2 separate regions of the Homo sapiens genome follow, and region 1 is linked to region 2. Evidence: promoter capture Hi-C in human tissues and cell types (Jung and others, 2019). All regions are on one chromosome and are shown on one strand. Each heading gives the region's core, a stretch centred on a gene start or on the middle of the fragment in contact. The rest is flanking DNA. Distances are from core to core; before and after follow the strand shown.

What was found. Contacts are between HindIII fragments. The study calls those that stand out against the background at their distance.
Region 1: a contact is called between a fragment that was not itself captured here and the fragment with the promoter of ZNF354B in region 2, in 1 of the 25 tissues and cell types used here (pancreas).

What each region holds. Positions count from the first base shown.
Region 1 is chr5:178,920,191-178,923,610 of GRCh38, reverse strand. The region is part of intron 4 of ZFP2 (ZFP2 zinc finger protein); the gene reads right to left. It also overlaps the pseudogene PIGFP1. Among named protein-coding and RNA genes, the nearest start is that of ZNF454-DT, 19 kb to the left of the region's middle. The HindIII fragment of the contact is 5,302 bases long and covers 1-3,420 here.
Region 2 is chr5:178,858,568-178,861,647 of GRCh38, reverse strand. It overlaps ZNF354B (zinc finger protein 354B), which reads right to left and starts at 1,695. Exons shown (of 5, transcript NM_058230.3): 1 at 1,521-1,695; 2 at 568-651. The coding sequence starts at 600. RefSeq lists silencers at 1,129-1,208, 1,289-1,488 and enhancers at 1,629-1,828, 1,113-1,845. The HindIII fragment of the contact is 12,564 bases long and covers 1-3,080 here.

The DNA of each region.
Region 1 (3,420 bases), core at 713-3,212, 62 kb before region 2:
AGAAAGGCAAAACACAGTCTTAAATATGAAGATTCAGTAATAACAGTACTCCTAAACCATTTCTGCTATTATTTAAATATTCAATTTGAATAAAAAATAAACATGAATGGGGAAGTTAGTTTGGGTATAAAAAGACTGGCAGTGACATGCTGAATCCACTTCAAGGATGAACCTCGAAGATATTATGCTAAGTGAAATAAGCCAGTCACGAAAAGACAAATATTGCATGATTCAACTCATATGAGGTATCTAGAGTAGTCAAATTCATAGAGGCAGAAAGCGGAGGTTACCAGGGGCTGGCGGAAGCGGGGAATGGGATGCTATTGCTTAAAGGATATAGAGTTTTCATTAGGAAAGATGAAAAAGTTCTGGAGACGGATGGCGGTGCTGGTTCCACAACAATGTGAATGTATTTAAATGCCTCCAAATGATACACTAAAAATGGCTAAAATGGCAAATTTTATGTTACGTATATTGTACACATATACACACAAACACAAAACATTACAATTAAAAAAAGACACCTAAAGAATTACATTTCAACTATCTGGGAAATCCTCATGTTTGAAAATTAAGCAGTGAATTTGTAAATTCTGAGAGGTCAAAGAGGAAATCACAATGGAATGAGATAATATTTTATGTGTTACAACCAAAGCAATGCTTAGAGGAAATTATATAGCTTTCAATATTTTTTTTTCTATTATAAATACTTTATTTCAACTAGAAGGTACAATCTCTCAGGGGTTTCATAGTTTAAAAAGCTACAATCACATCATGTTGTAACTACATAAAAAACAGTGCTGTAAATGGAACTGCTTGGCTTTGACCACACACATTTCTGCACAGCCCTTACAGAATCTGCACAAAGAAATATCTCCCTTTGCTCCAGTTAATTGTTCTTGTATGTAAGTTGCTTTCTATTCCAGTATATCCAGAGTGGTGAAATAACAAGGCCAGCCACGTGGACAAAGGTCGCTCCAAGCGTACAGGAGATGGGCCATACCTGCCATGCTCTTGCCCTGTCAAGGAATAGGACGTGCTCCAAGCCATGCTCCTACAAAACTAGACATTGCAGTGATCTGGAGACTATTCTCCCATATGGATGTAACTCCATTTCTACTGAAAACTCTTAGCCATGCTTTGAGGTTTGGTCCTAACAAACATAAGTAAGGCACAATAGTAAAAGTAGACAAAATAACTGCAAATAAAAATGTTTCCAATGCCAACTCTATTAGTGGTGCTCCATATAGAACAAAAATTACATGAAAGGAGAAACAAGACATAAGAAAGTAGATACAGCATTTCAAAAATCTGGTTACCTTGTATGATAATGAACTTATTTTAGAGGATGTATTTGGTTTCACTACTAAATATAGTACTAGACTGACAGCAGTTACAAAACCAGAACAGACGCACAACCATGTCAAGTGTGTTTCCAATATTGAGGAGTTCTCCAAGAAGAGTGATGGAATGAAGACACTTAGGATAATTGAAAATATGCATAAAAGATGGGTATACAGTAGTCTCTTGATATCGGTATCTTTCATGATGTTTTCTTGGGTGGCTAGCTGACTCTCCTGCCTGCGGAAGGAGCTTTAAATGTTTTTACAGTAAATAAGAATGGCCCATAATCTGTGACCTATGTTTCCACCTTAAGAAGTTAGACAAAGATCAAATTAAAACCAAAGTAGAGGATCCTCTTCCTGATAAGGTGGAGTAGGCCTATTCCACCATGTCTCTTCCACTGATAAACCCGAACAGAAAGCATGAAGCAATTATTTGAAGGCCCTGAGAAGTAAACAGTAGCAGGTGAATTGGGGAAGAGAACCAAAATCCAAAGTACCACTGAACCAGTGGTGAGCTTCCTTTTTTTCCTCAGCTGTCTTCTGTACTAAACTTATACAGCCATCTGAAAACAGGCACTGAGGCAGGAGAAGGCAGAGGAGGTTCTCCAGGAAAAGCTCTAGGGCCGGTTCATGGAGCAGGAAAAGGACTTCTAATGCTTAGAGAGAGCAGGGGGAATTGCCTATTTTTTCCCCTTTCTCTGTTCTATTGCACCCCAGCACTTAAGCAATCCTCTGGTGGCTGCTGCAACAGCAGTGCCACTGCAAGCTGACAGGAGCTCAAAAACATGAGGAGAGGGTCCTTCTTCCCCAAGCAAGGGATCTGTGGTCCCAAGAAGGGTAGCAAGAAGCCCCACTTCATCATCTTTTCTTTGTCCTCCTGCTGCTTGGCTCTACATAGGGATGGTCACTGGAAGTCACAGCAGAGCGGGGCAACTACAGGCCCCTGCCTTGTAGCCAGAAGAGTCAAAAGGACAGCCACAGGGAAGCTGAAACTACTGCGGACATAGACAGGGGAGAATTCGGGAACATGACCTTGGAAGTTATTTAAGAACTCCTGGGCTCACCTGCGAGATACATATGCATGAATCTGACCCCCTAAGCAGCACACGTGGACTTTGAGAATAAGAGGGACCGCTGCTTAAATTCCATACTGGCCACAGAGTGACACACATGTGAGCAAGATTCAAGCAACAATGTGAAGTCTCTGACAACCAAACTGACACAGAAACCACAACCCACAGAAAGCTGGTTGGACTTTGTAGTCTGAGCTCAACCAGGTTGACTGCCTGCTAACACAGAAATATCAACATTTTCTGTTGGATTTCAAGAAGACATAGAGTTTTATAACATAATATTCTAAATGCCCATGATACCTTTTGAAGTCACTGAGAATATAAAGACCCAGGAACATTTCAACTTACATGGGAAAAGATAACCAACAGACATCAAGTGAGATGATACAATTATCTTACAAGGACTTTAAAGCATCTGCCTTACTTGTTCCAACAAGTCAGAGTGAACACACTCTAAAGAAATGGAAATAAAATCTCAGCAAAGAAAATGAGCATATAAAAAGAACTAAGTGGAAATTCTGGAAGTGAAAAATATACAATTTTTTTTTTTTTTTTGAGACGAAGTCTCACTCTGTTGCCCAAGCTGGAGTGCAGTGGCGCGATCTCGACTCACTGCAACCTCTACCTCCCGGGTTCAAGCGATTCTCCTGCCTCAGCCTCCTGAGTAGCTGGGACTACAGGTACACGCCACCATGCCCGGCTAATTTTTGTATTTTTAGGAAAGACGGGGTTTCACTATGTTGGCCAGGCTGGTCTTGAAATCCTAACCTCGTGACCCACCAGCCTTGGCCTCTCAAAGTGCTGGGATTACAGGTGTGAGCCACCACACCTAGCCCTACAGTATTTTTAATATATAAACACTTATTTATTGATATAGAAAATAGAAATCTTGCTAAATAGGTCCAACAGCAGAAGGGTGAAAAAAGGAAAGAATTAACTTGAAGACAGATTAAAAGAAATTATTCAATCTGAACAACACAGAGAGAAAAGATTGAGAAAAA
Region 2 (3,080 bases), core at 446-2,945:
CCTCTCCAACTCTGTTCACTCTCGTCTCAACTAGAAAGGGTGGCCTCCTCATTCCCACTACACAAAAATGAAAACGGTCTACAATAGATTTCAAGACAGTGATACAAGCAAAGAATATGATTCACAAAGTTAAGAGGGACAAAAAACTAACAACGATGCGTTGGAGAAGCCTGGGGAAGGGGTGGTGTTATGAGGATTCTCAGGGGTGAAAAGAGAAAGTATTCCTGCGAAGGACAGGAACGGAGACATGGGTGAGTGGAGGAGGCAGGGATTTTTCCCACGTGTGTACGTTTGCTCTTAGTGACAGACAGACTTGTGGTATCTTACTTGTCAAACTAGTCACACAATGGATGAAGATTCGTGAACAAACTGTTAATTAAAAACCACTAGACACGGGTGGGGAGGGTGGGTGGTCCTCCCTACAGAATCCACCAGTCATGAGGGCGGACCAGCTCCTCCAAGAGAAAAGGACTTGGGCTCCATCCTGGCTGGAGATGGTCCCGGGTGAAGAACTCCAGTTAGTGGGGAAAATCCATCCACTGGGATCTGGGAGGGCAATGAGCTCACCTGGGGCCTCGCTTCCCGCTGCCCAGCAGCCATGTCCTCTTTCTGGCTCTCCCGGGAGGACGGCGCAGTCTCCAGAAGGCAGATCTGAGAAGAAAAAGGGAGCCAGGAAGAACCCCTTCTGCTTTCCAGCCCTGGAATCCGCAGCTCTAAAACCCCGACTCCCGCTGAGAAGGACCCCGCGCGCCCTCACAGGGATTCGGGAGGAGCCAGGAGCCCGCGGACCAGAGCAGCGCTGGGCCGCCCGGCCAGGCCCAGGCCCCACAGGCTTGGGGCTTACGGAGGGGACGCTGGACCCGCAGTGGCAGCAGCGACCCGCTGAGCCCACCAGGGCCAGGGCTCGCCCCACGCCGCTGAGTTCCTCGGCGCCAGCTGGCACTGCCAGCACCCACTGCACCGCTCAGGAAACTGAGGCAGCGCCGGGGCACCTGCCCCGTTCACGCCGCTGCGAGGCGGGCCGGGACTCCCACCACGACGGCCCCGGGACGACTTCCCTCCGCCTCAAGCCTTTCCCAGCCGGTTCCTCTCTCTCCCGCCAACGAATCGTCTCCCGACTCCACGGAAAACGGCTTTGAAGAGGAAAGCGCTGGGTGTCCCGAGGCAGGAGGAGTGGCCGTCCTGGGGACTGACTCAGAAACCGGGCCCGGCTGCCTCTGCCCTGCGCTCGGGGTCCCGGCGCCCCGAGTCCGCGAGGCCCACACGGCGCGCGCAGGGTGGGCCCGGGAGGAAACGCCTGGCCCCGCGTTCACGGCGGGCGGCGCGAGCCAGAGGCAGGGGCGTCGGCAGCGGCACCGGAGCGGCCCGTGAGGGGCGAGAGTCCAAGTCCTGGCGCGGGGGCCGGTGACAGACGCGGGGGTGCCCCCCCGCGCCCACAGAGGCCCTCGGAGCCCCGCGGCCTCAGGTCGCCCTGGCGCCAGGCGCCGCCTCCTCCCGGCACAGCCAGCCATGCCGCTCACCTCCCCAGGATCCCGCGTTCCCGGGCCGCGCCTCCCCGCCGCACTCTGCAAGCAGGAAGCTCCAGCCTCGTGACCCGGCTCCTCCGACGTCTGGGCGACCTCAAGCCCGGCGCCGCTCACCGGGCAGCGAAAGCTCCGCAGAGCGCCTGGGACCTAGAGGAGCAAGGCGGCCGCTAAGGCCTCTAGGAAATGGAGTCCACGGGAGGACGCTGGCTTTCTGGGAAGTGTAGTTCCACGCGTTTGAGGCGAGGTCGCAGCTGAGCTGTTAGGCGCCCAGACCTATGAGAGGGCCCGGGTGAGCTGTAGAGCCCCGGGTTCCTGGTTCTTCGGAAGAGAAGGGGAGGTTCCCGGAGGGCAGTAACTTGCAACTCTGTGTGTGAATTTCAGGATGGCGTGGGCGGCACGAAAACAACTACTACACAATTGGGAAAGGAAAATCCCCTGCAAAAGATGTTGACAAAGCTGGATTTCCACGTGCAAAAGATGAGCCTGTACCCTGACCGTACACCATACATAAAAATTAACTCAAAATTGATTAAAAACCTAAATGTGAGACCAAATTATTTTATAAATTACTAAAGTAAAAAGGGAAAAAACTTCAGGATGTTGGAGATGGCAATGATTTCTTGAATATGACATCAGAAGCACAGATAACAGCAAAAATAGACAAATGGGACTACATCAAACTTAAAAACTTTGGCTAATCAAAGGAAACAAAGGCAATCTACAGAATAGACGAAAATGCTTACATATCATATATCTGATTTGCAATGTATCCTGGATTTATATGGAACTTTTACAACTCAACAACAATAACAAAACCAAATAACCTGATTTTAAAATGGACAAAGGACTTGAATAGGCAATTCTCCAATGAAGATATACAAATGAGCAATGAGCAACAAGCATATAAAAAGATGGTAAACATCTCTAGGTATAAGAGAAATATAAACCCAAACTCAATGAGAAATCACTGCACCTCCATTAGGATGGCCACTATCAAAAGGATGTAAATTGGTACAATCATTACAGAAAACGGTATAGAGGTTCCTCAAAAAATTATAACTAGAGCTACATTAGGATCCACCAATCCCATTTCTGGCTATAGATCCAGAGGAAGTGAAACTCCGTGAGATACCTGCACTCCCATGTTAGCTGCAACATTATTCACCATGGCCAAGATATGGAAACAACTATCTGTTGATGGATGAATAGATAAAGGAAATGTTTTGTTTGTTTGTTTGTTTGGGACGGTGTCTTGCTCTGTCACCCAGGCTGGAGTGCAATGGCGCAATCTTGGCTCACTGCCACCTCCGCCTTCCAGGTTCAAGCAGTTCTCTGCCTCAGTCTCCCAAGTAGCAGGGATTACAGGCACCCGCGACCACGCCCAGCTAATTTTTGTAGTTTTAATAGAGATGGGGTTTCACCATCTTCACCAGGCTGGTCTTGAACTTCTGACCTCGTGATCCACCCTCCTCGGCCTCCCAAAGTGCTCGGATTACAGGCGTGAGCCACCGAGCCCGGCCACAATGTGTTTATATACACAAAGGAATATTATTC